Linked DNA regions of Homo sapiens: regions 2, 3, 4 and 5 are each linked to region 1. Evidence: promoter capture Hi-C in 16 types of primary human blood cells and fetal thymus (Javierre and others, 2016). All regions are on one chromosome and are shown on one strand. Each heading gives the region's core, a stretch centred on a gene start or on the middle of the fragment in contact. The rest is flanking DNA. Distances are from core to core; before and after follow the strand shown. Region 1 holds the start of MAP7D2 (MAP7 domain containing 2). Region 2 has its middle 9.9 kb from the start of MAP3K15. Region 3 overlaps MAP3K15 (mitogen-activated protein kinase kinase kinase 15). Region 4 overlaps SH3KBP1 (SH3 domain containing kinase binding protein 1). Region 5 overlaps PDHA1 (pyruvate dehydrogenase E1 subunit alpha 1).

What was found. The method cuts DNA at HindIII sites, captures the fragments that hold promoters and counts their contacts. A CHiCAGO score of 5 or more calls a contact.
Region 2: a fragment that was not itself captured here is called in contact with the fragment with the promoter of MAP7D2 in region 1 in 1 of 17 cell types (non-activated CD4 T cells); the score reaches 5.2 in non-activated CD4 T cells.
Region 3: a contact is called between a fragment that was not itself captured here and the fragment with the promoter of MAP7D2 in region 1, in 1 of 17 cell types (neutrophils). The highest score is 5.9, in neutrophils.
Region 4: a fragment that was not itself captured here is called in contact with the fragment with the promoter of MAP7D2 in region 1 in 6 of 17 cell types (endothelial precursors, naive CD4 T cells, non-activated CD4 T cells and 3 more); the score reaches 6.4 in endothelial precursors.
Region 5: a contact is called between a fragment that was not itself captured here and the fragment with the promoter of MAP7D2 in region 1, in 5 of 17 cell types (total CD4 T cells, naive CD8 T cells, neutrophils and 2 more). The highest score is 7.7, in total CD4 T cells.

Annotation. Positions count from the first base shown.
Region 1 is chrX:20,114,591-20,119,036 of GRCh38, forward strand. It overlaps MAP7D2 (MAP7 domain containing 2), which reads right to left and starts at 2,317. Exons shown (of 17, transcript NM_001168465.2): 1 at 2,160-2,317. The coding sequence starts at 2,289. The HindIII fragment of the contact is 4,441 bases long and covers 198-4,446 here.
Region 2 is chrX:19,522,988-19,527,853 of GRCh38, forward strand. No RefSeq gene overlaps it. Among named protein-coding and RNA genes, the nearest start is that of MAP3K15, 9.9 kb to the left of the region's middle. The HindIII fragment of the contact is 7,748 bases long and covers 1-4,866 here.
Region 3 is chrX:19,384,063-19,388,923 of GRCh38, forward strand. All of the region lies in intron 18 of MAP3K15 (mitogen-activated protein kinase kinase kinase 15), which reads right to left. Among named protein-coding and RNA genes, the nearest start is that of PDHA1, 43 kb to the left of the region's middle. The HindIII fragment of the contact is 8,970 bases long and covers 1-4,861 here.
Region 4 is chrX:19,561,993-19,566,525 of GRCh38, forward strand. The region is part of intron 13 of SH3KBP1 (SH3 domain containing kinase binding protein 1); the gene reads right to left. Among named protein-coding and RNA genes, the nearest start is that of MAP3K15, 49 kb to the left of the region's middle. The HindIII fragment of the contact is 4,351 bases long and covers 1-4,291 here.
Region 5 is chrX:19,355,375-19,358,732 of GRCh38, forward strand. It overlaps PDHA1 (pyruvate dehydrogenase E1 subunit alpha 1), which reads left to right. Exons shown (of 11, transcript NM_000284.4): 7 at 1-130; 8 at 312-383; 9 at 2,278-2,345. Among named protein-coding and RNA genes, the nearest start is that of PDHA1, 13 kb to the left of the region's middle. The HindIII fragment of the contact is 2,524 bases long and covers 1-2,512 here.

The DNA.
Region 1 (4,446 bases), core at 1,067-3,566:
ACATGCACAGGATTTCAATATCGGAAGAACCTGTTGCTAGAGGAAACCACCAGCGGTATTTCCTTTCCGTCTTTTACACAGCTCCCAGGAAAACCACTTGCCAACTCATATCCCCTAAGTGTGCAACACAAAATTGTTGGACAGCCTAAACATCTCAGGTCTTTCTGTATTTTGCAGCCTTGACAGCACCCAGCCCAAGCTTAGGAACAATGGTTGACTCTCTAGAAAAGCAGGTTAAGTCTCATTAGGAATGGGTCCCAAATGCTAAGGGCCTGGGTAACCAAGAATGATCAGTATCCAGGACAGATAATTATAAAACCTCAAAATCATAATTTTTCTAAGGAGACTTTACTTAAGTACCTGGCCTTGCTAACTCCCCCAAACAACAAATGGTGGTATCACCTGGCACCTAAATTAAACATTCCAATTTTACCATACCAACCTTAATGCACATAGGTGCTTATTTCACATTTTAAACCTTCACACATATTTTTCTATATTTCCAATTTCAAATGAAGGAAGATATCCTTAAGCTAATCTTAATATCAGAAGAGTGCATTAAATGATTCTACAATAGTTTCCAAACAGAACTTATTAAGAATCTCCCCCGCAAAAGTACCTCCTCCCCTTCCCCAATTTTGTTTCCATTAAAAAAAAAAAAAAAAAAACCCCTTAAGTTCCTTCAAATAAAATCCAAGATACACTGAAAACCCAATCATACCGCCCCTCCCCACCTCTCATGAGTACAACAGAACATCGAAACAAACTATTATTTAAGCTCTCAACCAAATAAAAATGCAAACTGAAACAACCTCTCCTTTTCAGTGTTTTATTATACAAGGTCGCCTCTGCCACGGAGGGTCGTTCTGGTGGGTAGTTTCCAGGTTCTTCCCTAGCAGATGCAGCTTGAGTGTTTCAAGCAAAAAGGATAAAAACAAAAGCACACATTTCAAAGGTAGTTATAACGTTATCCTGTGACAGTTAATGAATTCTGCCTTTAAAATAGCATAATGAAAAATACAAACTGGAAATGATTTAAGCTATCTCCTCCTCCTAAGAATGATGCAACTGAAGGCCCAGTCAGAAAATACTACCTCGCCCCCTCAACCCCAGTGAAAAAGCGTGTTTTAAGAAGATTTCTCTTGATTTCTTTCCTTTTCTTGGCCCATCGTATATAAAATACTCCCATCTTCACTATGTGATAATTCATCGAATTATAGTTTTGTGTGGTTTTTTAAATGCATATTAGACTGCAATAAAAAATGTTTTAAAAATAGCCTGCCTTATTAACTAAAAATAAAAAAGTTGTTGTCAGGAAAAACAGCATGAAATCGGTTTCCATGCTGCTTACACCCCCGCACTACCTGCAACCACTTTACAGAACGTTAGCATCAGACCTGCTTATCTAAAATCCTGCCAAATGTCCTCACAGTCTCCTCCGCTGCCTCGCTGGCTTCTGGGCAGCCAGGGACCAGCCCTCCATGGCTCCCAGCATCGGCAGCCTCGAGGGCTGAGAGCCTTGTTTGCCCCGCTGCCTCGATTGAGGGCCGCGGCCCGGCCACCTGAGCAGCGTTCCCAAGACAGGGAGCGCATCCGGGCGGGAGGAGCACCCGGTCCGGGGCAGACGCCTGGCCGCCCGGGCGAATCTGCCTCTGCCAATGGGTGACACGCCGATTTTGCCCCCTGGAAACGCCAAGAGGCGCGAAGCTGGGCCACCTTCGCCGCGGGCTGCAGCGGCGCTCGCGCGCGTTTCCCAGAACGCAGAGAGAGCGCGCGCGGAGGCCGGGGCAACCCCAGAACCCCGCTCGGTTTATCCTAACGACCCCCATGCCGGCTGCTCCTCGAGGACGGGGACTGGACCCGCAGCACCCCCTCAGGCACCTCCATCCCAAACACACCTGCCGCCCACCCTAAGCCACCCCCCATGTGTACCCACTCACCCAGGTCGCCCCAAGAAAGAACCCCGCCACTCGCACAGAGAGGGGTGCGGCCCTTGGATGCACGTCCGGACGATCCTGGGCCAGGGAAAGGGCGTTTATCTCAGCTCTGCGCCGTGCCCCTTCCCCCCACGCTCGAGGACCTTTGCCCTGGGCCGCCGGGCCCGCCCCCCCACAGGAACCCGAAGCCCTCGGGCGCCCGCCACACTCTGGGGATAATACCTTGAGGCCGGTAGTTGGGCTGAGAGGTCCGCACCGCGCCCGGTTCTGCGATCTTCCCTGGGAGAGAGGTTCCCCGCGCAGTCCCCTCAGGCCGGGATCCCGTCCCGGAGCCGCCGCCGCCGCGCTCCATCGGGATGCGCCGGCCGCACAGGCGCACTGCCAAGCCCGCCGCGCCGCACCGAACCCGCGCGCGTCCGCATGCGCACGCGTCCTCACGCAGCACGCGCGCAGGGCGTGCACGTGCGATAAGCGCACCGGTTACCACGCACAGCGCACGCAAGGCGTGCACGTGCGATAGGCGCACCGCTTCCACGCACAGCGCACGCAGGGCGTGCACGTGCGATAGGCGCACCGGTTCTCACGCGGCGCGCGCTTGTAGCGTGTGCATGCAATGTGCACAACAGTCCTCACACAGCGCGTACGGGCGTGCACGCGTCCTTACACGCTGCTGTACACAGTGCACACACAGAAGGCGTGCGTACGCACACAGTTCTTCATACGATGCTTACATGCAACATGCACACACAACGTGCACACCCAGCGTAAATGCATCTTCTCACAGTAGCAGATACACACTCAAAGCGTGTGTAGATGTAGGGTGCAGTTTCTCAGACACCGTGCACACACATCCTCACTCAATGTGTGAACACAGAGCACATAACGCGCACACACGTGCTCACTCAGCACGCACACGCTTACACTCACTGGGTGTCTGCATGCAAACTCAGCAATGCAGCCTTGGGAACAATTTCTGGCTAGGCCCCCAGGTGGGTGCCAGTTGGGCCAGTGACATCTGTGCAGACGCCAGAGGACCCGCCCTCCATGCATAGTTAGGTTCCAGTTTTCGAGGCGCACGGGTAATCAGTGTTTAGTGACGCCCCACCCTCAGCGTGCGGTCACCCAGAGAGGGACAGCAGCAAGCTATTGGGGTCGATCTTCAACTAAGAGGCAGCGGCACGCGCCGTAGGCCGACCTAGGCCTTTCAACGACACCCTACTCCGCAGCCAATTTGGTTCCTCTTCTCCTGAGGCGTAAATAATGCTGACTGAAACCTCCGCGATGCCGGGTGTGGTGGCTCCCGCCTGTAATCCCAACACTTCGGGAGGCTGACGCGGGCGGATTGATTGAGCTAAGGAGTTCGAGACCCCCGTCTCTACAAAAAAATTTTAAAAATTAGCTGGGCATGGCGACTCATCTGTGGTCCCAGCTACTTGGGAGGCTGAGGCGGGAAGATCGCTTGAGCCCGGGAGGTCGAGACTGCAGTGATCACGCCACTGCACTCCAGCCTGGGCGACAGAGACCTTGTCTCAAAAGCAAAATAAAACAAAAAACCTCTGAGGAGGATCTCTCCGAGAAGACACACAAGAAACTGCTAAACGGGTTGCCTCCTAAGTAGGCACTTTTACCACTGCCATGCACATTTATTATCTTTTCAAAAACATTGAAAAAGACATCTTGGCAGGGCCGGCTCAAGCCTTTTGTTTACCCAGGCCTGCCAAGTGATAACCCGTTCCCATGGAGCCCCAGGCTGCATGTTTTTTCTCGTTGGAAGGTGACCAGCCTGAAAGTTTTATTACCACTCCTGGGGGGAGATATACACGATTAAAAATGAAGCTGAATAATGGGTACAGGTTTTCTTTTTTGGATGAAAATATTCTAGGATTATGATGAGTGCACAACTAAGTATACTAAAAACTATTGAATTGTACATTTTAAGCGGGTGAATTTTATGGTCCCTTAATTATGTCTCATTTTTTTTTTTTTAATGTGAAGCTGAAACTCTCAGGAATGGGCACCTGTACTCTTGGCCAAAGCTGGGAAAGTCCCTTTGTGGCACAAAAAATGTTTGTGATGAACGTGTTCCTGACACGCCCAAAGGTGTGCCGGGAGTAGGGTTCAAGTGTGGTGAGAAAGCCAGGAAGTTTAAACATAAATGAGTAGGAAAGTGAGCAGGTGGGGGCTGGTACCCTGAGCTGTAATGAAAACTCGAACACATTGAGATTAAGCCAAATTAAGAGCGTGGGAGCTGTCACTTTCTCCTCCCTTATCTTAGGGACCTTTGGTGAGTTCAATTCATCCAACTCTTGAGCTCATGGACATGTGTGTGTAGCATCCCTCTCTACTTTTATTCTATTTTTGGGGTCCTTTTACTTTCCATTCCTCTCCCTAATTATAAACACCTCCTCTGATATCTTTGCAGCTGCAATTTTGAAATACTGTTTTGAAGATACGCATGTATTTTAATTGTATATAAATGACACTGCATAAAAGCTATCATTCTATTTGT
Region 2 (4,866 bases), core at 2,352-4,851, 590 kb before region 1:
GCCTTGTTTGGATATCAGGGTAACACTAGCCTCATAAAATAGCTTGGAAACTATTCTGTTATCTTCTATCTTCTGGAAAAGATTGTGTAAAATTGGTGTCACTTCTTCCAATGTTTGGTAGAATTCTCCAGTGAGGTCATTGAGACTTGGAGATTTGCTTTTCAGGGTGTTTTAGTTACAAGTTCAATTTTTTCTAATGGTTATATAACTATTCAGATTGTCTATTCTATCTTGGTTGAGTTTTGGCCTATATTTTTCCATATACATTTCAGAATAGGCTTGCCTATGTCTACAAAAGAAGTTTCTAGGATTTTGATAGGAAGTATATCAAACCCAATAGATCAGTTCAGAGAGAATAAACATCTTTATTATGTTGAATCTTCCAAATTATGAGCATTGTATGACTCTCCATTTAGATGTTATTCGATTTCTTTCATTAGAATTTTTTAATTTTCAGCATACAGATCCTATACACATTTTGTCAAATTTATACCCAAGAATTAAATTTTCTTTAGCGTGATTGTAGATGGTATGATGTTTAATTTCAGGCTTCACATGTTCATTGTTAGTATGTGGAAATGCAACTTTTTGTGTGAATTTGTATTACACAACCTTGCTGAGCTCACTTATTAGTTCAAGAGATTTTTGTTTTCTTGAAATTTACTATGTAGACAATCATGTAATCTGCAAGGGAGAGTTTTCTCTCTCTCTCTCTTTTTTTCTTTTTTTGTTGCCTTATTACTGTGGCTAGAACTTGCAGTACTATGTTGAAAAAGAGCAGTGAGAGTGGGCATCCTTGCCTGATCTTAGGGGAAAAACATTCAGGTCTTTCACCCTAAGGATGATGTTAGCTGTAAGTTTTTTGTAGGTGCTGTTCCCTCTGTTCCTAATTTGCTGAGAGTCTTTATTGTGCATGGGTATTGCATTTTTTTGCAAATGCTTTTTATGTATCAATTGATAGGACCATATGATTTTTTCTCTTTAGCCTGTTGATATGGTGGATTACACTGACTTTCAAACGTTGAGCCAACCTTGCATTCTTGGAATAAATCCCACTTCGTTGTGGCATGTCATTTTTGTTACGCATTGCTGAAGGTGATATGCTAATATTTTATTGAAGATATTTGCATCCAGGTTCATGAGAAATATTGATCTGTAGTTTTGTTTTCATTTTTTTTCGTATTGCCTTTGCCTTGTTTGTATATCGGGGTAATACTAGCCTCATAAAATAGCTTGGGAACTATTCTGTTGTCTTCTCTCTTCTGGAATAGACTGGGTAAAATTGGTGTCACTTCTTCAAATGTTTGGTAGAATTCTCCAGTGAAGTCATTGAGACTTGGAGATTTCTTTTTCAGGGTGTGTTAATTACAAGTTCAATTTTTTCTAATGGTTATATAACTATTCAGATTGTCCATTCTATCTTGGTTAAGTTTTGATAATTTGTGGTTTTCAAGGAATTGGTCCATTTGTTCTAAGATGTTGATGTCATAAAGATGCCCAAGATGTCATAAAGTTGTTCTTATTTACTATACTTTTAATGGCTGCCTTCTCTCTTTTTATCTTTTTCAGTTTTGCTATCTATCCAAGTAAATGTAAATATTCAAGTCTACTGATGAGCCCATCAATGATAGTCTTCATTTCAGTTGCTGTGTTTTTTATTTCTAGCCATTTGATTCTTATAGTTCCCATCTCTGCTGAAATTACCTATCCGATTTTGCATGATGTCTACTTAGGTTGTGAGAGACTTTAACATAGTAATCGGGCTGGTCACGGTGACTCACACCTGTAATCACAGCACTTTGGGAGGCTGAGGCAGGCAGATCGCTTGAGCTCAGGAGTTCGAGACCAGCCTGGGCAGCATGGGAAAACCCCATCTCTACAAAAAAATACAAAAAATTAGCTGGCTGTGGTGATGCATGCCTGTAGTCCCAGCTACTTGGGAGGCTGAGGCAGGAGGATCACTTGAGTCCAGGAGGTTGAGGCTGCAGTCAGCCGTGATCACACCACTGCACTCCAGCATGGGCTACAGAGTGAGACTATATCAAAAAAAAAAAAAAAAAAACTAAAACTAAAACCATAGTGATCATAATTATTTAAAATTCCTGCCTGTAATCCCAGCACTTTGAGAGGCTGAGGCAGGCAAATCACCTGCAGTCAGCAGTTCGAGACTAGCCTGGCCAAAATGGTGAAACCCTGTCTGTACTAAAAATACAAACGAAAAATTAGCCAGGCATGATGGCATGCACCTTTAGTCCCAGCTACTCGGGTGGCTGAGGCAGGAGAATTGCTTGAACCTGGGAGGCAGAGATTGCAGTGAGCCGAGATCACATCATTGCACTCCAGCCTGGGTGACACAGCAAGACTTCATCTAAAATAAATAAAATAAAATAAAATTCTCTCTCTGATACTTTAATAGCAATGCCATATCTAAGTCTGAATCTGATCACTTGTCTCTTCAGAATGCTTTTTCTTTTCTTTTGGCATGCCTTGTAATTTTTTGTTGAAAGGTGGACATTGTATATAGGGCAGCAGATACTAAGATAATAAACCTTTAGTGTGGGACTTTATGTTGATCCAGCCAGGAGTTGGGCTGTGTTGAGATTTGTTTTCCTATGAACATTACAAACTTCAGATTCCTCTAGTGATCTTTTTTTGTCCCCCACCTCTCTTGGCTTTGGGGCTTCCCTTTGTGCTGCTCCCCAACGTCTGTCTCTTGCAGTCTTCCCTGCTATTGTTATTCCTGGAGGCTTGTTAGCATGCTGTTGGGAGATGGATTCTCTAATATTCTAAACTTCAGTCTTTGGAGTGCACAGTGGGCTTGTGTCTCGGGTGTAACTTTCACAGTTGTTTCTGTTTCTCCTCCAGGGACAGAGCTCCCTCCCATTCCCTTCTCCCAGCTGCAGTGGGTATCTACAAGTGTTTTCAGTCTATAGACTTGAAGCCCTTTTCTCTGAAGGTTGAATTGTTTTTAGTTGAGATGAAGAGCTAGAGTTGAGTGCAGTTCCCTCCCCTAGTTGCAATGGTAATTCACCAGGGCCCTCGGACCATGTCTTTCCCCATGCAGAATAGCCTTTTGTTCCTTAAGGGAGAAGGGTCTGAGTAGATTTCTCAGTGGTTCCTGAGCCAGCACCATGAGTTTTCTCTGGATTTCCCCTGATCTTCCCTGTGAGAACCAGGTGGGGTTCCTGGAGGAAAAGCCTGCAGAAGGATGACAGTCTTTCTTAGGAGCTGCACACTCTCAAGCTAGCCCACAGTTGGCTTCCAGAAATTGGTCAAATTTTCTAGCCTGACCTTTCTACCTAGTTCTATGGCATCTGGTGGTTTCTGCCCTTGGTAACCAAATGCTCAGATCCTGTGTCTTGCAGGAAGTGCCTAGCCTCTTTTTTTTTTTTTTTTTTTTTTTTTTTTTGAGACAGGGTCATGCTCTGTCACCCAGGCTGAAATGCAGTGGTGTGATCACGGCTCACTGCAGCCTCAAGGCTCAAGTGATCCTCCTGCATCAGTCTCTCAAGTAGCTGGGACCACAGGCAGGCGACACTACACCTGGCTATTTTTTGTCCCTTTTGTAGAGACGGGGCCTTGACATGTTGCCTAGGCTGATCTTGAACTCATGGGCTGAAGCAATCCTCCCGCCTCGGCCTCCCAAACTGCTGGGATTACAGGTGTGAGCCACCACACCTGGCCCAGATTTTCAAATGGCCATTTGCTCTTTGAACTTAGTTCTCTATTAATTTCCAGTCTGTCCAGACTTTTTCTTGTTGTTAGCACAGGAAGGGATTTCATGCAGCTCTTCCATATCTCTGAGCTGAAACTGGAAGTCCTATCTATTCAACCATATTTGATCTAAAAAAAATGTTAGTTTCACATGTTTCAACCAAATAGACTACGGCATTATTTCTGAGTAGTGCACCTTGTTTTGCTTCAGCCAAGGACAACTAGAGATTTCTGGAAAAGATTGCTGTCAGCTACTCTACACACAACTCACTGGGAATGAGTTGATCCCCCCATGATGGTGGTCTTCAAACTTATGCGTGCATCAGAATTACTGAGAGGACTTGTTAAAACACAGATTGTTGGGTTGCTTTCCAGAATTTCTGATTCAGGAAGTCTGGGACAGGGCGCAAGAATTTTCATTTCTACCAGGTTCCCCAGTGGTGATACTAATGCTGTTCTTTTGGGGATCACATTCTAAGAACCACTGCTCTATGGCTCTTCCTAGAAGCTCAGCGCTTATCTACCTTTCCCACTTACTCATCACTTTGAGGGCAGATGGTTTGCCCTGAGAGGGAGCAATTAGGTTCTCAGCTGACCTCAGAGAAGAATCAAGAGTCAGCAAAGAATTCCCTTTTTTTTTTTGAGACAGAGTCTTGCCGTCACCCAGGCTGGAGTGCAGCCTGCAAGTCACCCAGGCTGGAGTGCGGTGGCATGATCTCAGCTCACTGCAACATCCACCTCCCAAGTTCAGGTGATTCTCATGCCTCAGCCTCCTGAGTAGCTGGAATTACAGGTGTGTGCCACCATGCTGGGCTAATTTTTGTATTTTTTAGTAGAGACAGGACTTGTTGGCCAGGCTGGTCTCAAACTCCTGTCCTCAAGCAATCCACTCGCCTCAGCCTCTCAAAGAGCTGGGATTACAGGCATGTGCCACCATGCCCAGCTAATTTTTCTATTTTTAGGAAAGATGGGGTTTCACCACATTGGCCAGGCTGGTCTCGAACTCCTAGCCTCAAGTGATCCACCTGCCTCGGCCTCCCAAATTGCTGTGATTACAGGCTTGAGCCACCATTTTCAGCCCAGAATTCATTTCTTTTTTTTCCTCCAGAATGAGTATAGGAAAAAAAAAAAAAAAACTTTACTTTCTAAAAC
Region 3 (4,861 bases), core at 2,188-4,687, 730 kb before region 1:
TAGCCAAGATTTGGAGGCAACCTAAGTGTCCATCAACAGATGAATGGATAAAGAAAATGTGGTACATATACACAATGGAGTACCATTCAGCCATTAAAAGAATGAGATCCTGTCATCTGCAACAACATGGATGGAACTGGAGATCATTATATAAAGCGAAATAAGTCAGGCATAGAAAGAGAAACATTGCATGCTCTCACTTATTTGTGAGAGCTAAAAATCAAAACAATTGAACTCAGGGACATGGAGAGTAGAAGGATGGTTACCAGAGGCTGGGAAGGGCAGTGGGGACTGGGGGAAGGTGGGGATGGTTAGTGGGTACAAAAAAAAATAGAAAGAATGAATAAGATCTAGTATTTGATAGCACAACAGGGTGACCATAGTCAATACATTTTGGCTGGGCATGGTGGCTCATGCCTGCAATCCCAGCACTTTGGGAGGCCGAGGTGGGTGGATCACTTGAGCCCAGGAGTTTGAGACCAGCCTGGGCAACACAGCGAAACCCCATCTCTACTAAAAAAGTACAAAAAATTAGTCAGGGTTGGTGGTGTGCACATGTAGTCTCAGCTACTTGGAAGGCTGAGGTGGGAGGATCACCTGAGCCCATGAAGTTGGGGCTGCAGTGAACTGAGATCACGCCACTGCCCTCCAGCCTGGGCAGATGGGAGTGAGACCTTGTCTCAGGGGAAAAAAAAAAAAAAAAAAAAAAAAAAAAAAACTGTACATTTTAAAAAACTGAAAAGAGCATAACTGGATTGTTTGTAACACAAAGGATAAATGCCTGAGGTAATAAATACCTTATTTACCCTGATGTGATTATTACACATTGTGTGCCTGTATCAAAATAGTCTATATACCCCATAAATATATATACCTGCTATATACCCACAAAAGTTAAAAATAAATTTGCAGATTTTTAAAAATATGGAGCCATGGTGAACAGCACTCTTTCTAAAGGCAAGGATTTAATAATGACATTCATATTAGTTATTTACTGCTGTTTAAGAAATGATCCCCCAAATCTATCAACTCAAACAACAAATAGTTAGGTCTTACAGCGTTTCTAAGGGTTGAAATCCAGCAGCAACTAACTAGCTGGGTGGACCTGGCTCAGGGTCTCCCAGGAAGTTGCAGTCCAGATGTCAGCTGGGGCTACAGTCATCTGAAGGCTGGACTGGGGCTGGAGGATCAGTTTCCAAGCTCACTAAGGATAGAGCTAGTGGGGGGCTTCAGTTTTTCATTACATGGGATCCTCCATAGGACTGGTTTGAGACATGGCTTCCCTCAGAGAGACTGATCCGAGAGAAAGAGGAATGGCACACTGCCTTTTATGACCTAGTGTCCAGGTCACACACCATCACTCCCACTTCTTCCTATTCATCAGAAGCAAGTTGCTAAGTCCAGTCCACATTCAACGGGAGGGAACTACGCAAGGGTGTGACTATCAGGAGGTAGGGATCATTGGGGGTCATTTTGGAGGCTGCCTGCCACAAATCTGACTCCTGGTGAGCACTTGATGGCTTACCAATTGTCTCCACATAGCCTTGTCCATCTGACTCAAACGACTCTGGAAGGTTAGGCAGAGGAAGCACTATCTACCATTATTCCTACTTTACACAGGAGGCAACTGAGGTTCAGAGAGGCTAAAGGATTCGCTTAGGCTAGAACCCATATCTTCTACCTTCAAGTTCAGAACTACACACCATGACATCACTCATCCATACACTACATCAAGAAGAAGCGCTGCTGGAAAAAAAAAGCTGCCTGAATAAGAGTAGCACGTGTAAGGATTTCCAAAGCCATATTGGAGCATCTTTCCATGTAACTGGAAGGTACAGGGCACTAATGGAAAACTGGGTGCTCCATTTTATTCACTACTGTATTCACAAGGTAACCATCCACTCTCAGAACAGCTAACAGAGAGAGATAAATGCACACAACTATTTCAGATACTCAAGGGAACACTCCCTGGCAGGATGCATGTTGGGTGTGTACATCAGCTAACCCAAAGGCTGGATTCTGTCAAGAAAACCAAGTGAAGATGGCATTGTGGGGCATCTGAATCACGCACAAATCCTGGAAAATTGGGTTTCCTTCAATCTGGCTCTCATAGGCCAGGCACGGTGGCTCACACCTGAATCTCAGCACTTTGGGAGGCCGAAGCAGGTGGATGGCTTGAGGTCAGGAGTTCAAGACCAGCCTGGCCAACATGGTGAAACCCCGTCTCTACTAAAAATACAAAAATTAGCCGGGCATGGTGGCGTGTGCCTGTGGTCCCAGCTACTTGGGAGGCTGAGGCAGGAGAATCGTTTGAACCCGGGTGGTGGAGGTTGTACTGAGCCATGAACGCGCCACTGCACTCCAGCCTGGGCGACAGAGTAAGACTCCATTTCAACAAAACAAACAAACAAACAAAAATCTGGCTCTCTTGGGGCCCCATATGCTCCCTAACCTATATTTCCTCCAAGGTATGCCCTACCACACTGGTCACTGGTCACAGCCCACTACGGCTCTTAGGTACCTACACCAGTGCAGTGGTGCAGAGTTCAGAACAAGGTGACCAAGAGACCCACAGGCACTGACTCAGCCCCCCTAGGGCACAAAATCCACTGGGGACTCCTGGAGAATTGTCCAATAGGATTTTCAGATTACCAGCAAAGAAGACACACAGCAGAAGACACAAGTTTATAACCGAGGCCCAGGGACCTTCTAATCTGATCAAGGGGCTGAGAGAGTTGACAGAGTAGTTTAGGGGGGTGGTGCTGAGACAGCTTCTTTAGAGAGAGCTATGCTGGGCTGCCTACCCTCTCCCAAGTTACAGGATTTGGGGCAGGACTGTCCCCAAAAGGGCGTGGGCCCAGGGCAACTCAAGCCACTCAATACCAACTTATGATCATCACATCTTCCACAGGCCCTTGGAGATACCGTTAGAGCCTAAATTTCAAGATTTCATATTAATCAAGTACAGAAAAGAAAAGTAAGGTACGATTTTCCCATAGTCCAGGGGACTACCCTAGTTGACCTGACCAAGGGATAAGCCTGGTGGAAAGGTGGCGCCACTTGTTCCTAACCCAAAGCCTTTGAAGGGGGCTTCACTGAGCGACTCAGCTCCATGTGTATGTGTTCCTGTAGGTAAATTACACAGTGGACTGGCACCCAAGTGAGCAAAGGTTAACTTCCAGCAGCAGACAGGGGGCTGTAAGGTGTGGGGATACTGCCACACCCTCTCAACAGTGGGCTGAAGCTGCTTGAACTCTGGACACCAGATGGGGGACCCTATTACAGAAATACTGCCTTAGGGTTTATCTTTTATTTGTATTATTTATTTGATTGATTGACTGATTGACAGGGTCTCATTCTGTCGCCCAGGCTGGAGTGCAGTGGCACAATTATGACTCACTGCAGCCTCATTCTCCTGGGCTCAAGTGATTCTCTCACCTCAGCCTCCCGAGTAGCTGAGACTACAAGTGCGCACCACCACACCCAGCTGATTTTTATATTTTTGGTAAAGACGGGGCCTCACTATGTTGGCCAGGCTGGTCTCAAACTCCTGGGCTCAAGCGATCCTCCCACCTCAGCCTCCCAGAGAGCTGGGATTACAGGCGTGCCCAGCATATGGTCTTCTTAAAAGGAATCCTGGGAGTCTCTCTCAGAACCTATTCTGGTTCCAGGGGCTGCCCAATAAAAAAATAAAGAAAAAAGAAAAGGAATTCCTGCTCAAACGCAGTCCTCCACGATCTGAATCCCTCAACAGAAAGAGATGGAAGGAGGAGGTGATGTAAGGGGTAAATAACTGGGAGGAGGGGGCTGTCAGCCAAAGGACAGGCCCCTGCCCACGACACAGGAGTTACATCCAGAGGGAGCCAGCGAGGGAAGATAACTAAACATCAGCCAGGCCCACAGCACGCAAAGCCAGCTTCCAACAGTGCTAGTCAAGTAACAACTTTCCCTGCCCCTGTCCTCTCCTTCCTGCAGCTGGTGATTAGGGAGAAAAAGACAACACCCAGCTCCTGACCACAGGTCGCTGCCTGCAGGGAGACGGGAGAGGGGTCTGACTTTTGAATGAGGACCAGAGCGTTGATCAGTATCAGCCTGAATCTTTTTTTTTGAGACAGGGTCTTGCTCTGTCACCCAGGCTGGAGTGCAGTGGCACAATCGGCTCATGCAACCTCCGCCTCCCGGCTTCAAGCGATGAGTCCTTTTTAATTCCTGAATTCAGACTGTGTGCGCTCCTTCAAGTGTCATTATGACTTTCTCTGTTATGTAAGGGTGGCTGGAAAAGTCAAAGGAAAGAACTCCCGCCCCAGGCAGGATGAAAAGTGGGAGAGAAAAATCCAGTGGCTTTTGTGATTACACCCTTTGAGTCCAATGGGTTCAACACGTTAGTTACACACACAAACTCAGTTCTCTCAAAGGCTCCTTCCAGCTCTAATAACCCATGACTTCTAAGTACAAGCGAGTATTTAATTAGCAAACACTTCAATTGCACTTGCTATGTGCCAGGGACCAGTCAAAGCACTTCATCAGTAACTCACTTTACCCTCATAAAAACCCTATGAGTAGGTACAACGAGCATTTCTATTTTACTTACGAAGAAACTGAGGCACATGGAGGTTAAGTAATATGCCCAAGGTCACACAGCTAGCAAGTGGTTGGGCCAGGATTTGAACCAACGATGTTTGCAGCCAGACGAGAACAGACTTCCTGTCCCGAGTTCTCCCTCTAGGTATCTACCCAAGAAGGCTGAAAACACATGTTCACACACGCTTTGTATGTGAATGTTCACAGCATCATTATTCGCAGTGGCCAAAAAGTAGAAACAATCCCAAATGACTGTTAACTGGTAAACGGATGAACAAAA
Region 4 (4,533 bases), core at 866-3,365, 550 kb before region 1:
CCACATCCAATGACCTTTTAATGGGGCCCATCAATGTCACTCTCCAACTGCTAATCACTTTTCTCTTGCAATGAATCAAACTTTACAGGCTCCTAACCTTGGCCAAGGTTTCCAGAACATGCTTTAATGAGAGTCCATGGCTAAATAAGGATTTTGATAATTTACTTAATAAAGTGATACCAGAACAAAATACTTAATAAAATGTCGTGTGTCCATAATGCTTTTAATGTGACAAAGGGATGCCTGAGCACAATTTTCTGGTAGACTGTACATTCCTCTGGATATTTGCAAGTAAAACGGAAGCCATAACTGGGCTCTGCCAATCCATGAGCCCACAGCCAGGGGACAGGGGGAGGGGGGCACCTCAAGCCAAATAAATGCCATGTGAGATCTGAGAGCTGAACATCACCTGTTCCCTTGCTTCCACATTCATTTTCAGTTCAGAGACCTCTGTGGTGTATACTGTGGATGCAGCAAAGGTCACTATATAAGTCTCTTTGTTCTATGAGACTACTTTGAATCCACTGGGTGTACCTCCAGATTTGCATTCTTAAATCTGTAGGTACACCCAGTACCTCCAGAATACGGCACTAGAATACGGTCTCAGCATGTAGCAAACATAGAGGCACTCAAGCCATCAGACTGAATGATGAACGAGAGCGCTGGCCACAGAGATGCAGGCGACCACATTACCAGGGGAGGCAGGACATGCTGACTCTGCACATAGGTGAGCATTTGGGGCTGCCTGCAAGTCCACACAGCTACTAGCCTCTGTGACCCTCTCCAAGCCAACAGCCATCTGAATTGATGCTCCCTAAATGTCCCTCCACCTCTCTCAGGTCAGCTATTTTGCAGGCTGGTGGGTATAGAGCACTTGGGTAGGACAGTACTAATTTGCTCTCTGTATATTGGAATAATTCATACCACCAAATGCACTGCTGCAGTGAGGTTCTGCAACATTTGCCATCATGTCCCCACTTTGACGTAATCTCCCCCTGTTTCTATAGCATTTGTGAGGCTTTTCCTACAGGCACTTTCAATGTTTACTGAGTTTGCGCTTATGGGATGTTATGGGGTAAAAGATGTTCGTGAAGACCCTCATAACTAAGCACAAACCCAGCCACCGTGATGGACCACCAAAGGCCAGCAGGACCGCCCTGTGCAAGGTGCACAGGCAGAGGTGAGCACCTCGGTTCTGGTGAGGATCAACATCTTTGACTGAGAAAGTCTAAGTGGAGATGCTCATTTTACACCCAAGATCAGGCCCTTCAAAGGGCCCTGAAGGACCATCTCCTGTAGGACTGGAGGATGCCTTTCGAAATGAGTGCTGGTTGCCAACTTGACCTTGTTTCCTCAGCAGCACACCTCCACTGTGAGCCTGAGAGGCTGGGAACCAGGGGAGGGCTCAAGGGCGATGCAGGGAGAAGGCCATCCACAGAAGCTGTTCTGAATTAGCTACGCCTCTGTAAGTTCGAGGAAGGAACCCAAAATGCTCAGAGGATTGCCTGGGTTAAAAACCCATCAATCAGAAGCGCAACCTGTTTCACTTCCTTTGTATAAAGCGTTTGACCCTCAGCACAATCTCTTTTGCTTTCTGTCATCACACTTGAGAAATGTATAGTGCTTTTCAGCTACTCCTGACAAAAATTTAAGTTTGATCACGATTTGTGTCCCTAGATAGGGACCGGAGCTGCACACGTCCACACATGGGCACCGCAGCCCGTCATATGCAGACTTGACTGTAGACCAGTAGCAACCGTATCTCCTGTTCTTCAGCACAGGTAACATCAACCATGTCCTTGGTCCCAAAGGCTGTGTCTGAAGGTTGCCAGTAAGGAGACAGTGTCTGTAGGAGCCAGCCGTGGCTCTTCAGTGAAAGTTCTCATGTCTGAGCAACTAATCCCGAGAGAGCTGGAAGGCGCGGCTGTTGTTCACACACACGCTCAGCCAGTAGTCAATCTGGAACACTCCAAGTGTCATTCATGGGTTTTTGTTTTTTTTTAATGGCAGGCAGGACACAGTATATCTTGTTTTATTGAACCTGAGCAATTGCTCAATGATCTGACATGCTGCAAGGACCAATAACTGGCTCTCTGGCTCCAAAAGGGGAAGTTTAAAATATGTATTTTAAAAACAGGACAGAAAAACCAATAGCCCCAAGTCAGGAGATCTGAATTTTTCCTCAAAATTTGTATGAGAAACCCTTAGAAGTGATTTATTATCATGAAAGGTAGAAATTGCAAAATAAGGTAAGAATGTAATCACTTGTTTGTAGACATTTGGTGTCACATTCACAAAAATGTTGTGTTAATGGTCGCTATTACAATTGCTCTCTCTTGCTCTCCTGTATAACTTTACCATACAGAGTACAGATTTAGAACTTAGTATTGATCAAATTTGTTATTGTCCTTTTATGTAATACCCGTTTAAACACTGGGTAGTTGATCTTTGGCAAATATCTAATCACAAATCCAATACTCTTTCTATTTGAAATCAGACTCAAATGGTATCATTTCACTTGCTGCAAGCCTTAAGATGGCCCCTCTCCCCTCTCTTCTCTCGCCTCTCTCTCTCTCTCCCCCCCCTTCCTCTTTCTCTCTCACAAAGGTCACAGTCATGTCCTTGGTTGATGTTTAATTACTTCAAATATAATTACTTTTTTGTATATGAAATATTTTCAAACTAGGTTTTATAGAGATTCTCAGGAAATGAGACAGGCCACTCCAGGGAACACAAGTTGCACTTGCAGGGGAAGCCTGTCCTCTTCCTGTTCCTAACACAGACTGGGCTCTCTGGGCCTCGGTGCTATTGACATTTGGGGCTGGGTCATTCTTTGTTGTCTGTGGGGGCTATCCTACACACTGGTGGATGGTTAGCAGCATCCTTGGCCTCTATCCACTAGATGCCAGTAGCATCTCCACCCCCACCCCTATGATGTGACAGTCAAAAATGTCTCCAGACATTGCCAAATGTCCCCTTGGGGAGAGCAGTTGAGAAATGCTGATGTGGACCTAGAAGGTTTGGGCTCATGGGTCAGAGAGACCTGGCTTCAACTCCAATTTTTTTTTTTTTTTTTTTTTTTTTTTGAGGCGAAGTCTCGCTCTTGTCCCCCAGGCTGGAGTGCAGTGGTGCAATCTTGGCTCACTGCAACCTCCGCCTCCCGGGTTCAAGCGATTCTCCTGCCTCAGCCTCCCAAGTAGCTGGGATTACAGGCGCCTACCACCACACCCAGCTAATTTCTGTATTTTTAGTAGAGACAGGGTTTCACCATGTTGGCCAGGCTGGTCTCGAACTCCTGACCTCAGGTGATCTGCCCGCCTTGGCCTCCCAAAGCGCTGGGATTACAGGTGTAAGCCACCGCGCCTGGCCTTCAACTCCAATTTCTTACTAGCCAGATAATCTTGCTCAGTTTCCCCAGCTTGCTTTCTTCCCTGTTCCTTCACTGTAAAAACATGAGTCATTACACATCCTTCATAGGGCTATGGACGGTGAGAAAAAAATAGACAAAACATTTAGTGGGCACCCAGTGAATATTAGTTCTTTCTTTCCTTACTCTTGCTTGCTCTCACTGCTCTTATTTCAACACTAGAACCTCAGGACGATGGAAGAGGGGAGATGAAGGGGGAGGGTTTGTTCTCCACTATATTAGCAGAATGATTCTAACACAAGGATATTCCACACACAGCTCCTGTACTCACACTGTACCTCAACGAGGATTAAAAGTTATAAAGGCATGTTCTACCCCAAACATGCTTACAAAACACTCTTAATCCTTTCTAACGCTTTGGGATTATTGTTTCACCAGGGTTGTAATCAGCTACAGATCAAAGTCCAGGTGGACCTTGATTTTTTAAAATGGTGTACAACAATACACACATTTAACACCCTAAGGGGACGTTTTACATTACAAAATGATTACTAGGTTTTGGAGACCTTTTTTTTTTTTTTTAAGATGGAGTTTTGCTCTTGTTCCCCAGGCTGGAGTACAGTGGTGTGATCTCGGCTCACTGCAACCTTTGTCTCCCGGGTTCAAGCGATTCTCCTGGGCTGAGGTGGGAGGATTGCATGAGCCCAGGAGTTAGAGGCTGCAGTGAGCAATGATTGCACTGTTGCACTCCAGCCTGGGTGACAGAGCAAGACTATCTCAAAACAAAAATACCATTAACTTGAGAAGATATAGCCTTCTAGGATTAATGTCTCTGTGGCAAAGAGAGAGAGAAAACCAAACCTCAGTACTCTATTTCTGGGCTCCCAAATATATGCAACTGTGCTTAGTTTCCACAGCATGAAAAGCTTCTATAGGTGAACCCGCCCCCCCATCAATACCCCCAATATTTCCACACTAGCTCATCAGACTGAAAAACATGTGATTCATATTTTCATGATAGCGATCATAGACATCTCCAGACCCAAAGAATGCAAAGGTCAAAGGTGAATGCTCTTAGCAAGCAAGACAGATTATCCTGTATATTCTGGAGGAGGGAGAATACCTCCCTTCCTATTGACATGAGGGAGGTGACAAGACAGCCTCCT
Region 5 (3,358 bases), core at 1-2,500, 760 kb before region 1:
GGCAGCTTTGTGGAAATTACCTTGTATTTTCATCTGTGAGAATAATCGCTATGGAATGGGAACGTCTGTTGAGAGAGCGGCAGCCAGCACTGATTACTACAAGAGAGGCGATTTCATTCCTGGGCTGAGAGTAAGGACACCTGTGGTGGGGCCGGGGCCAAGGCCAAGGCCAAGGGTATGTCCTTGTGCAGACCCTTGACGATCTTAGAAACATTGGAGAGTTTCATTCTCATACAGGAGCAGGTCATGTGAAAGTAAAATGGTTTGGGGCAGTTGGATTCATGCTTCGCCCCTCCCCTGTTTATTACCAGGTGGATGGAATGGATATCCTGTGCGTCCGAGAGGCAACAAGGTTTGCTGCTGCCTATTGTAGATCTGGGAAGGTAAGGCTCTAAAGCCCTCTGGGCTAGTGACATTTATCTCTGGAAGTTCAAAGACTGCCTCCCATGTGCCTGCTGAAGCTGTTAGTGGGTACCTGCTAATTGAGGTGCATGAGATGGAAGCAGAGTGAAGGGAGCAGGGCTCCTTTGGGTAGCTTGGTCTTGGTAGCTCACCTGCTGGGAAGCCTACGTTTCTCTCATTTGGGGGAAGTCCGTTCTGGTGCTTCCTCTGCTTTGGCCTGTCTTCATGACAACTGATTTGCCTTTTCCTTAGGTTAATTCTGTCCCTCCTCCCCACCCCCCATTAATCATGAGTCCCTTGAAGGAACAGATTGGGGATCCCCACAGTGTCCAGCATAGAATGTCATGTATACAATAGGCATTTAATATGTGTGTCTTATACAAATTAAACAGTATGGTAGAAGCTCGTAATCTTAGTCTTGCTCAGTCCTAAGGATCTTTCCCTTTTCAGTGTATGGCAGTGAGGGAGATGGTAAGAGGGAGACTGGCCTAAAGAGGTTTCACTTCCTTTGGCACTAGTATAGGCTTAGGAGGTTTGGGTGTTCTCCCTAAATCAGTGTTCTACAGCCCAGAAACAAGGTTTCTGAAGTTGGCACTTCAGCGCCATACCATGTACGTTTAGGCAGTGATGTGAATCAGATGTGGCCAGCAATGATGGAAATGTCACAAAGTGGAGAGACAGGGAAGTGAGGGTGGGAATGTAGTAACATTAAATAAGAGCTAATGAGTAGAATGAACTAGAGCAGGACCAAGACTACAGCTTGGGTACAATGGGCTGAGCAGTCTATGTCAGGACCCTAAGGCTGGGAGTGCCAGGCCCTGAGTGATGGGTATTGACGCCACCTCTCCCAATTCCTGAAAAGAATACATGGGGGCCAGCCCTGGCTGGAGACAAGGGGAGTTGTAGAATGTAGTTGTAGAATGTGTGACTTTCCCAAACAGATAACCTTCACAATTCTGAGTTAGGTGTTATTGTTTTGCCCATTTTGCAGACAAGGAAACTGAGCCATAGAGCAGTTAAAGGTACACAGCTACTCTGTCTTGGAGCCAGCTCCCCACTCGCCCATTTTAACTGCTGCACCAAACCAACCAAGGATCCTCAATGTTTCTCCACCCCAGTGTTCAGAGCCGTCTCCTGGAAGTGGGCTAGTGTAGAATGAGCGAGCCCAACTGTCCAGACTCCCAGCAGAGCCTTGGGGTTTGGGTAGCAGAGGTTGTTGGTGCCTGCCAACTTTGTTACACACTAGCAAGGTCTGTGAAGTAGGAGTGGCTGCCAGCCCCACAACACACCATGAGAAAGGAGCATGAGATGGAAATCTGTCTAGCCAATAGCAGGAGGCTCTAGAACATGCTCAGAGCCTTTTTCTTTTTTCACAGGGTCTCGCGCAGTGGCACACTCACAGCTCACTGCACCCTTGACCTTCCAGAATCAGGTGATCCTCCCAAGTAGCTGGGACTACAGGCGCACGCCACCATGCCTGGCTAATTTTTGTATTTTTTGATAGAGATGGGGTTTTGCCATGTTGTCCAGGCTAGTCTCGAACTCCTGGGCGCAAGTGCTCTGCCCACCTCAGCTTCCCAAAGTGCTGGGATTACAGGCATGAGCCACCATGCCTGGCCTTCAAAGCCTTTTTGATTCAAAACAAGCTGTTGGCAGATTGCCTTATTAAAAATGAGAAAGATGAAATATGCAATCAATACTTGCTAGAAATGAGAACAGATCAGTCAACCAATAAGAAATTCGTGACAACTCAGAAGATCTGATAAGACTACACTGGACGCTTAATAAAGGGCCTGCGTTTGAGGCCGTGGATTGCCGGCCTGTTCTTCCAGTCATCGTTCCTAACTAACTAACTGCCTACCGGTTCTGTTTTAGGGGCCCATCCTGATGGAGCTGCAGACTTACCGTTACCACGGACACAGTATGAGTGACCCTGGAGTCAGGTACGCTCATGGGCAGTGTGGTTTCCATAGGGGTGGGCTTTGAATGGTGTTACATGGCAAAAGCAACACATTTCAGTATTTGCTTTTGGAGCTAGATACCAGTTCACTTCATGTACGCAGTTGTGTTGGGCATCAAGTTATCTGAAAGCAGTGCCTCCTAATAAGAAAGCTTTCTGAAAATGCCTACAGTGTATAGTGTGTGTGAGCACAAGCAGCAATTTTTAAAGAAAGAGTGTTATATACCTTAATTGTAGAGGGAAATTGTTACATAAAACAGGGCTGATGGTAGTGTAGTATCTTGGGGGCATTTAGCTTTTGTAGGCATTACCCCAAGTCTACACCTGGCATACTCTACCTGAAGAGGATCAGAATTTGGAGATGTTCCTCTGTCTGGTATAGAGCTAAGGGTAACTGGGTGTTCAATCCGTTGAAATACATCAATCAAAAAAGCTAGGTTCCACTAGGAAGGCATGAATTTTACTTTTTTGCTTAGTAGCTCTGGCCTGTGATTCTGGAATCCCAGTTTTGACACAGTTGAATAAATAAGCCTTTGTAGAGTGGACTTCTAAGGAAAAATCATGTAGAGAGCACAGTATATGGAAAAATGCACTTTGTGTAAATCTATTGTTGAAAATGGTAGAATCCTTTTAGTGTTACTTCAGATGATATAGGCATAAGATACATTGGTTTTGCTGGCTGTGCTTCTTTAGGGGGACTTAAGGGAGAAAGGCAAGGCACATGGATTTCCTGCTTGGCGCTCTGATGTCTCAAAGTCTAATTATCACCACACACACCATCTCTGCTGTCCCCACCCATGTAGTATACAGGAGCCCAAATGGGTGGGACAAGTGACACTTCTTTAGAACCTTACATCTAAATCAAAGCAGCAAGCAAAAACTTGGCCCCTGTTGTCGGAATGCCAGGGAAGCCATGTGACTCACCAGTGTACGGTTTTCTAGAAAAGACAGAAGCAGTTATTACAGAATGTTAGGCTGCGTTCTGGTATTTTGAAA